Linked DNA regions of Homo sapiens: region 2 is linked to region 1. Evidence: promoter capture Hi-C in human tissues and cell types (Jung and others, 2019). All regions are on one chromosome and are shown on one strand. Each heading gives the region's core, a stretch centred on a gene start or on the middle of the fragment in contact. The rest is flanking DNA. Distances are from core to core; before and after follow the strand shown. Region 1 holds the start of RASGEF1C (RasGEF domain family member 1C). Region 2 overlaps MAPK9 (mitogen-activated protein kinase 9).

Evidence for each region. The method cuts DNA at HindIII sites, captures the fragments that hold promoters and counts their contacts. A contact is called where the count stands out against the background at its distance.
Region 2: a contact is called between a fragment that was not itself captured here and the fragment with the promoter of RASGEF1C in region 1, in 1 of the 25 tissues and cell types used here (dorsolateral prefrontal cortex).

What each region holds. Positions count from the first base shown.
Region 1 is chr5:180,206,502-180,211,469 of GRCh38, forward strand. It overlaps RASGEF1C (RasGEF domain family member 1C), which reads right to left and starts at 2,710. Exons shown (of 14, transcript NM_175062.4): 1 at 2,527-2,710. RefSeq lists an enhancer at 709-1,501 and a silencer at 2,626-2,845. The HindIII fragment of the contact is 4,624 bases long and covers 1-4,015 here.
Region 2 is chr5:180,244,596-180,249,563 of GRCh38, forward strand. MAPK9 (mitogen-activated protein kinase 9) reads right to left here. Exons shown (of 12, transcript NM_002752.5): 6 at 4,378-4,543; 7 at 2,844-2,915. Among named protein-coding and RNA genes, the nearest start is that of RASGEF1C, 38 kb to the left of the region's middle. The HindIII fragment of the contact is 5,555 bases long and covers 1-4,968 here.

The DNA.
Region 1 (4,968 bases), core at 1,460-3,959:
GCAAAACGGTGCTACCTCTTGACAAGGAATTTGGGACTAGCTAACAAAATAAATCCACATTCACTCCTACTTCTAGAAGTGTGTTCTAAATATACACCTTTGCAAACATTAACAATATAGGTGCAAAGTTATCCATTACTCCATTATTTTAAATTTAAAAAGACTTGGAAAAAAACAAAATTGTTCATCCAGAGGACATAATTTGAATAAACAATAATAGTACAGCCACAGAACGAAATACTATGTGAGTGTAAAAAAGAATGAGCCAGGTCTCCATGAACTGGTAAGAAGTTACTTTCAGGACATACTTCTAACTGAAGAAAAACCAGGAGCTGTACGGCTAACTTTTGTGATAATGCTTAAATGACTTGTTTTGCAGAAAGAGACACAGGAAGGATAAACCAGAAAATATTTTAAATGGCTCCCAATGGTGTGGGAACAAGGAAGAAGATGCAGGGGTGGGACTGAGACCTTTAAGGATAGCTTTTTAATAGTTCTGACCTTTAAACCATGTGTTTTACGTATTCAAAAAATAAAATTACATCCTAAAGTCTAAAGGAAAAAAAGCTCCAAATTGAATGCAAGTAGAAACACACGAAGCTAACAGTGTGTCCGACTGATAACGTCACCACACAGCACTCTGCCTGCACACCCGTGGAAATCCCGATGCTGACCTAGCAGGTTTTGGTTGGCTTCGGTGTGGATGCAGTCATTCTGAAACTCTTTCGGGGTGCATTGTGGAGCTAAGTAAATGATGAAATATATTCATGTTTGGGGGAATAAGGTTCTCACTGCAGGAGAAAGGGAAAGGAAATATTAATTTTTAGTAAAAAAGGGGCCTTGGCTTGGTCCACTGACAAGGCCTAGAGGCGGCGAGTGCACGCCCCACACTAAGCCCGGGTCCCACGCAAGGAACCAAGGCCCCTTGGACAAATGGCTGACTCTGGATCTGGGTCCAGGTACAAGTGAGAGCTGGAACCACCTCAGAGACTGGCGGGGACATGGCAGGAGGGTGCAGACCCCGGCCTGAAAAGGGCCAGGTCCCGGGCAGGGCCCCACCTCTACCTGGTGGCCTGCGGGCTCCCCCTCGCCAGTCCCGCCCTGGGCTCCGCAGCCCGTCCCTCTCTCGCCTGCCCTCCCTCTCCTGCCCCGGCAGTGCGCCCACCCGCCGCCACGGGCAGCCTTTCGACGCCCAACCTGCAAACCGCCTGGGGGCTGCCCAGGACGTCCAGACCCTGTAGCGTCTCAGCTCCAGCTCCGCCCCCTCCTGCCCTCAGGGATCTCACCCGCGCTGTTCCCCCGGGCTACCCGTCCATCACAGGCTGGGCTCCCCGCTCAGGACAGCCTCCCTGACCAGACGAAGGCTCCGCCGCGCCCTGGTCTCCCTCTGCCCCAGTCACCCTACTGCATGTTCTTCCCAGCACGCATAAGATCTTGGCCATGTCCTTGCTTTTGCCTTTGATTTCTTGTTTGGTGTCCCCTCCCACACCAGCTAGTGAGCACTTACGGGGGCAGGCAGCAGGCGGCACACAGTAGGCGCTCAATGAATGTGGCCAGTGAGTGGACAACCCTAGCCCCCCTCCACCGGTCGCCTGCACAGTGGCTGCACTATGGCTGTTGGAGCCAGTCTTACCAGAGGTGGGACCCCAGCGTTGCCACTCCATGGTCCCGCCCCTCTCTAAACCTCAGTTACTCCACCTGCCTGGCAGGCAGAGCTTCCCAGGACTCTTCTCAGGCTCCCGGGGCTCAGAACTTCTGTCTCTCCCACAGCCCCAGGAGGCAGGAGATACGGGCCCGGAAGAGCTCCACCAGCACCCCAACTTCCCAGCTCTGTCTTTCCCACAGTTTCCCACGCCCACGCTGAGCATGGGGCGGCGTCGCCAGCACCCTTCCCCAAGTCCCCCCAAGCATCGCTTTCCCAATCTAAATACAATGAGTGGACCAGGTGGTCCCTTGATGCCGTCCGCTGTCACTGCGTGAGGGACACACCCAGGACTCCCAGCAGACCCCACTGTTCTCGCAGGCCCTCTGATAGTGGCGCTGGTCCTTTCCTCAAATCCGATCCCATCCTCAAGGGTGACAGCACCCTCTTCCCCCAGGCGCAAGGCCCTTTCCCTTCTGCACGTGCACCGGCAGGTCTGCTTTCCCGTCCCCATTTCATAGACGGGGAAACTGAGGTCCGGTGCGGGTGGAGGCTTTGGTCTAGGCTGGCTCTTCCTGCCACTCTAGCGGCTGAAAGAAGCTTGCTCCTCGCGCCCAGCAGGGGCTGGCGGCGCGCGGCAGAGCTGGGTCTCCCGCCAGGTGGCCGGGGGTGTGCCCTCAGGGTACCCTACCCGCTACCCCCGCGCCTCCAGTCCCGGCGGCCGCGCGGACCCCGCCCCTGCTGACCCCGGCGCACGCTCCCGCGCCGCGCGCAGCCTCCCGCCTCCCGCCGACCCCGCCGCGCCGCCGGCAGCCCTCCCCAGCCCCCGCGAGCCCGCGCCCTTGCCCGCACCGCCAGGTGTCCCTCGGCCGCGCACCACTCACCGGCTCCCGGCGCGCCGGAACTCCGGGCCCGGCCCATGGGCAGCTCCCGGTGCGAGCCTCGGCGCCGCGGACCGGGGCGCCGCCCGCCGCCGCCGCCGCCGCCGCCGCCGCCGCCGCCGCCGCCCGACCGCCCGGCTCCCAGCGCAGCCCGCACGAGCGCCTGGCGGCGGCCCCGGAGCAACGCGGCGCTGCGCCCCCTCGTGGCACTCAGGCAGCGCGGAGCGGGCGGGGCGCGGGGGTGGAGCTGCGGGAGCCCGCGGGCGGCGCTGCACACCAGGGCCCTCCGTGCCCCGGCCGCGGAGCCAAGCGTCCCGCCCTGCGTTCAGGCCTCCGCGGCGGCTGGCCCCCCGCGCCAGGACCACCCGCTCGGGCCGTCAGACGCTGCCCTCCCGCGCGCGGACCCTGGCGGACTCTGCGCCCCAGCTGCCCCAGCCTACACCTCACCTGGTGGGCCTCTGGCGCCCCAAAACCCAGTTCACCCTCTCTCCTCAAGACTGGGCCCGGCCCGGTTCTCTGGACTGGCCACCTAGGTTGTCTGTGTCCCCCAATGGGACATCCCTGGGTGGACACCCCCCCTCCCCAACCTTCTCGGCGCTCTCCCGTGGCCCCCAGGGAGGGTGGACACCACTTTGAAGACACCGGGGTTCTGGGAGGATGGCGATGCATGATTTCACTTTTAGAAAGGGAGAGGGGCTCTAACAGGATCCAGTGGCCTCCTTGAACTGGGTCTTCAGTGAAAAGTTCCCTGGTTGGTCCCAGCATAGAGGTCAGGACACCTGTCCTCCTGTGTCCGCAGTTTGTCCCTTCCGCTGGGTTCCTGGTCTGGCTGACTTCAAGAATGAGCCAGGGACCTTGGCAGTGAGTGTTACAGCTCTTAAAGGTGGTGCGACGGTGAAACCCTGTCTGTACTAAAAATACAAAAAAATTAGCCAGGTTTGGTGGTGGGCGCTTGTGGTCCCAGCTATTCGGGAGGCTGAGGCAGGAGAAGGGCGTGAACCCGGGGAGGTGGAGCTTGCAGTGAGCAGAGATTGCACCACTGCACTGTAGCCTGGGCGACAGAGCAAGACTCCATCTCAAAAAAAAAAAAAAAGAAAAGAAAAGAAAAAGGTGGTGCAGACCCAAAGAGTGCGTAGCAGCAAAATGTCTTGTGAAGAGCAAGAGAACAAAGCTTCCACAGCAGGGAAAAAGACCACAGCCGGTCGCCGCTGTTGCTGGCTGGCGAGGGGTGGGCGGGCAGCTTTTATTCCCTTATTTGTCCCCACCCATGTCCTGCTGATTGGTCCGTTTCACGGAGTGCTGATTGGTGCGTTTTTACAGAGTGCTGATTGGTGCATTTACAATCCTCTAGCTAGCCAGAAAAGTTCTCCAAGTCCCCACCCGACACGGAAGTTCCAGCTGCCTTCACCTCACTCTGCTTTAGTCAGGACCTGCCTGATGAGATGTGGCCCAAAACTCAACCCAACCAGCTTGAGCAAAAAGCTGGTTTGTGGATCATAAAAAGCCAAGGTTTACTGCTTAGAGGAATGGCTAGATCCAGGTACTTAACCTATGTGCATAGAAACTGGCCTCCCCTATCTCCCAGTCTTTCTGTGGCAGAATGGCCCTGGGTTGACACCTCAGAGAGGGCACAGCTGCCTGATAGTTGCAAGGACAGCCTGCGGCTGCCACACACAGGCTCCGAGGAGCTGAGCTCAGGCCATTTCCAAAGACCTAGGGAGCAGGAATAGCAGGCCTGGGTGTCGTCTCACTAGAGCTGAGGCAGAGTTAGTCCTGTGTCAGCTTTGAGGATGGAGTAAGGTGCTGTTCCAAGCTTCCGTGAAGGCTGTTCCTGGAAGAATGGACAGGTTAAGAACAACAGTCCAGCCCATTTCTTGAACAGTTAGGGAAACTGAGTCCTGGAGAGAGCAGGCAGCTGCCTAGGGCATACAGATGTATTAGAATGAATGTGGGCCAGGTAGCTAGGCAGGGAGACAGCAGGGCTGGGGCCAGGGCCAGGGCCAGAGGCTGGCCCTAGGGAGGGTGACATCTGAGACCAAGGGTCAGGTGTGGGGAAAGGGAGGAGGAACAGAGGCAGGCACTTGGTCAGGGGTGAGCAGTGTGCTCCCAGCAGATAGACAGATGCGCCTCAGGGTGCAGGCACTGGGCCCTCCCTGCATCTTCTCCGATTATCACCCTATGCCCCTAAGCCTCAGGTCCAGTCCCAGGGTGTCGCCTGGAGGAAGCCAGGAGTCTAGGAGGAGAGGCCGCAAGAGGCACCTCAGAAGAGCTGACCCACTCAGCTGTGTTGTTCTGGGGTCTGGGCAGCACTGAGCGGCCCTCCTAACCAAGTGCAGGTCAGGGTGGTGAGGCCAGTCTTTCCCCAGCTCACCCTTGCTCTGTGAGCAAAGGCTGCTGTCCCCTGATAAAGAACTTTCTCCAGCAAGTGGCTGGGGCCACTGAAGC
Region 2 (4,968 bases), core at 1,031-3,530, 38 kb after region 1:
AAACCCTGGCCCTACTAAAAATACAAAAATTAGCCAGGCGTGGTGGCGGGCGCCTGTAATCCCAGCTACTCGGGAGGCTGAGGCAGAAGAATCGCTTGAACCCAGGAGGTAGAGGTTGCAGTGAGCTGAGATCGCATCGCTGCCCTCCAGCCTGGGCAATGGAGTGAGACTCTGTCTCAAAGGAAAAAAAAAAAAAAAAAAGGAAAGAAAAAAGAGCTGTCTACACTTGTGTCTCTAATTCCCAGCCTCTCATTTTCTCTCAAACATACTCCCATCAGGCTTTCTTCCCTCCACTCCATAAATGCTGTGCCCATCATGGCTGCCAGCAGCCATCACAAGGCCCAGGGGCCAATCCCCCGTCCTCATCTCCTCATGTGAATGAGCCTCCCTCAGTCACCACACTCTAGGAGGAGGGGTCACGTGAGTGCCTTCTCCATTTCCTTCCCTATTCCCTTTGTCCCTCCACCTCAAGGGGGCTAAGTCCCGGGTCCTGGTCTCTTCCTCCCCTGCAAGTGCTCGCTACCAGTCCTAGGCTTCAAGGCTACCGACAGACGGATGACACCCACTTTGATCTCTCTATCCCAGACCTTGCCCCTAAATTCCACTGTCTAACAGACATCTCCAAACCCTAGCAAGGCTCCTTGAAGGGTCCAGCTTCAAAGCAGAGTACAAGCCCATCTCCCCGGCCACACCCCTACCCGCCTGCTGGGGGCCTCCACCTCTCCTCTGGATGATGGCAGCCTCTGCTCTGTTCTCCTGCTCTGCCCTGCCCTTGACGATCCACCCTCAATTCAGCAGCTGGGAGGAGCCTCTTTGCATCTCAGTCAGACTAGGCACCCAGAAATGGGCAGGTGAGAGAAATATCTGCTGGGTTAATGATAAAGGACTAGAAATTAAACCAGTTGTGAGAGGAGACCCACAGATTCCCCGAGAGGACTCCACCCCAGCATCCTACAGGTGGGAGGGATGGGGGACAGATGAGAGGGACGGGGGAAGGGGAACAATAATTCCGACAAGCCCAGTGGACCCTGTTGTCTAACTCTCGTGAAGCTGCAGGCAGACCACAGGTCTATTTTACAGAAGGGGAAACCAAGGCTCAGAGAGGCCCTAAATTTCTCAAGGATGCATGGCTGCCAAGGGGAGGAGTCTGAGCTGGGGCCCGAGGTGGCCGGGCTAAAGCTTTCTCTTTCTCATAGACCACCGCAGGGACAGGAGTTCCTTTTCTACCCTGGGTCGCAAATTAAAGCAAATCTCTGAGACCCTCAGTCTGATTTCTGCAACTTTTTTCTATCTCCCAAATTTCAATCTAATATTTGAAAGAGTTGGCAAAATTTTCTTTAGAAAATGATGTTAAACTCTGTGTGGCTTTTGGGAATAACATTAGGTAACCTTATATATAACACTATTAATTACTGACATTAATGTTCATATGTATAGCAGGAATTTTAATTTTACTTACTAAAATGCACCAAAAAGTACTCACATTTTTCATTTTTGTACTTTTTGAAGAAAACATTTTGTAATAAAACAAGGAATGGCACAAAATGAGTAAGAATTGAGACAAACTGAACATTAAGTAGATATTTCTAAATTATTAGTCTTTTAATTTTTCAACTTTTCCCTTTTTAATTAAGTTTACTTGCAAAATAAAGACGTCCTTATTTATAGGTTGCAACAAGTGAATCTGAGATGAGGCTATGGAAACTGCTAGAAAATTTAGTAGAACAAATAAAATAACTTGACATATTATATAATCTATGATATAGAAAATGTAAAGAAAGGTAAATAAAATGAGAGAAATAAAAATATTTTCACTTTAAGTTTGCACTGTGAAGAATTTATAAGGAGACCACTTTGATAAAATTATTAAAATCTGAAATTATTTTCCTAAGATACATACAAAACACTGACTATGGAGCTTGATTTCCTTAAAAGCAACCATCAATCTGCCCAAGGATGGAGACCAATTTAAACTTTCATAACGAAAACAAAGTCAAAGACTAATGAAAAACTAAGTGGTTAAAACACAAATGAAAAAGGGAAGATGTGAAGAACCATGTTAGGGTAAAAAATACTGAGGATGGAAGAATGGCAAATGAGGAAAGAAGGCTATTGTAACAATTAGAGTAGTTATTCTCCTTTCTGCTGTATCTCTAACATGACTTGCTGACTACAGTATGAGTTTATCTCTTTCATTTTACATTTATTTTGACTTCCCCAGTGTGTCACAAAATAACCCACTAGACAGATTTTTAAAAAAAATTCTACAAAATGTCAGCACAGTAACAAACAAGAAAGTTTAACATATTGTTCCTCACAAAATTTTCATTTTAATCTCTTTCACTTAGGTCCTTTGTAATGTGCTTCAGTTCTTACTTTGGGGGAAAATATTTCAATGCATACCAGTAACTAACAAAATAGTACTTAATTAAAGCACACAAGCACACTAGCCTATTAAATTTAGATAGCATCTTTCCTAGTTAAATTAACGGAATAAACTAAATAATACAGTATTTTCATTTAAATATCAGAATATACTTATCAAAGAGTAAATAATTTCTTCTATGTGTCCAGCTATTTTTGGCAAAATTAAGAGCTAATATAATCGGTTTAACTGAACTCTAAGTCTCAAAGTCATCACAGGTAGTCAAGTTAAAAATAAAGAATGAAATTGAACCACTTGGCTTGTGACACTAATTAACAAATACAGTAAAGCCCCCCTTAGAACACAGTCTGGAGTGGATTTTACGACTTTGTCCTCGTGAGCGCTCGTGTAAGCAGGTGGTCATGCTGCCTGAGGCATTAAGAAAGCATGGCGGGGCCAAGGTCGCGGGGAAGGATACGGTCAGTGCCTTGGAATATCACACAACCTTTCACCAGCTCTCCCATGATGCAACCCACTGACCAGATATCAACTGAAAATAAAATGAAATGATAAAATTATGAAGTGCCATGAACAAAACAAAAGTGAGGAAAAGGAATTCTAACAGTGCACTAAACACACAAATATGGAAAAATAAATTGCTAGCTAAGGGTGACATTTTACACAATATGAATGATTGCTGACCTCTATTTTAGCCTTCGGTTTGTAGCAATCTGGGGTTTTAGTGCCAAAGAGTCCAATACTTTATAGCTTAAAACAAACAAACAAACAAACAAAAAACCAGAAACAAGAAGTGCCTGTGAACACAAAGCTTTTCAGGGCCACACGCCCACCCCAGCCTCCATGGCCAAGTACCGGGTCCCCTGTGAAGGATACAGTCTCTTCCCGGGAACAGGACTTTATGGAGGACCATTTCTGCCATGATGCACCCGACAGACCAGATGTCCACTACCAAACACCAGGGGATTAAAAACCAGCTAGAGTCCCCCATCTTTTTTCTTCAAACCCCCTCCCAGGACAAACCCGGTACACGTCACTAGCTTGCCGGCGGGAGCCTCTGTGCGTTGTTGATACCACACCTCCTGAGCGATCATTTTCTAGACTGCCCCGTCAGAAAGGCAGCAGCACTCACTGGCGGCACAGGCTGGCTGGCTTGCAGGACTGCAGGTGAGGCCCTGCTAGAGGGGCCCAGACTTCCACGGTGCCCACCCTCATCTGTGGGGCCTCAGACAGACAGCAGAGGCCTCTAAGTGCCCTGCTGGCGGGCCGAGGGGAGAAGTGAACAGGGGATCAAGTTTTCTCTCCCCTCCACAGGAAGCACATGAAGCTGTGCCCCTCAGGGTGGGAACACAAGCTACAACGCAGCAAGATGAACCTGTAGCAAAACTCATTTCAGATGACCCGGGCAAACTTTCAGTCTTTTTAAAAATAAGTAAGCGTGATTTCGTTATTTTCAACAAATTTGCTAAAAGCCAAGTTTCAAAGAGCTCTGATATTGCTAGAATAAGCTAAGTTTTGATGTAAAAAGACACCAATTTTACATGAAAACATGTGTTATTCTATTTACATCAAATTCAAAAAAACAATATGCAGACCAACAAATAAAGCTGATCCATGGTACTGGAGATCAGGAGATTGGCCAGCCTCGTGGGCTGCGAGGAGGGGCCATGGGGAGGCCAGAGCTGCTGCTGCTGTGGGTGTGCTCACCTCAGCTGAGCTGCACACTCAGGATTTGCACACTTGGCTATAGACAGCTTAACTCTGATTAAAAAGTTCAAAAATAACAATTTTAAAAGTGAATTTTTAAAAGAGAATGATTTTAACCAATGGAAAAACACAATTAATTATTTCTTATCTCTGGATCATGCTATATTCTGGGTGTAACAGTCCCCACAGTATATATCATATGGTTCAAAGGAAAGAGAAAAAACTCGAGACCACCGCTAGAGCAATTTCTAAACATCCCAGCCTCTTCCAGCCCCGGCTATACTCACCGTTCTCTTTGTAGCCCATACCCAGGATGACTTCGGGCGCCCGGTAGTACCGTGTCACCACGTAAGGGGTCATCATGAAGTTAGTGCACGCTGTCCGGGCCAGGCCAAAGTCAAGGATCTTCAGGGTGCAGTCTGATTTCACAACAATGTTGCTAGGCTTCAAATCCTAGGAAAGAAATGGCTTAAATTAGTAAAATGAATGAAGCATGCTAAATAAACTACTTCACATCCGTGAGGGTCGTGAAGCCAGTGTGAGAGTGTAGGGAGTGAACTGAACTCTGAGATTTGGGAACAACTTTGGAAAATCTTACTCTCAAATTGAAACTAAAACAAATCAGCCTAAAGCCGTCAGATGGTGCCCCTTACCCCCAGTGGAAACCTTCATGGCCCCCATTTGCCCTTTCTGTGGTCTCGCAGGCCCTCAGGCTGTCCTATCTACCCTCCATCCATGCATCTACACGTCCAGCACACATGCCCCCCTCCCGCTCTCCACGCCTGGACTTGAGTTCCCCAATACTCTGACTCTCTCTTGCTAAGGTCCTCATGCTGTCAGTCCAGCACACACGGCCCCCTCCTGCTCTCCACGCCTGG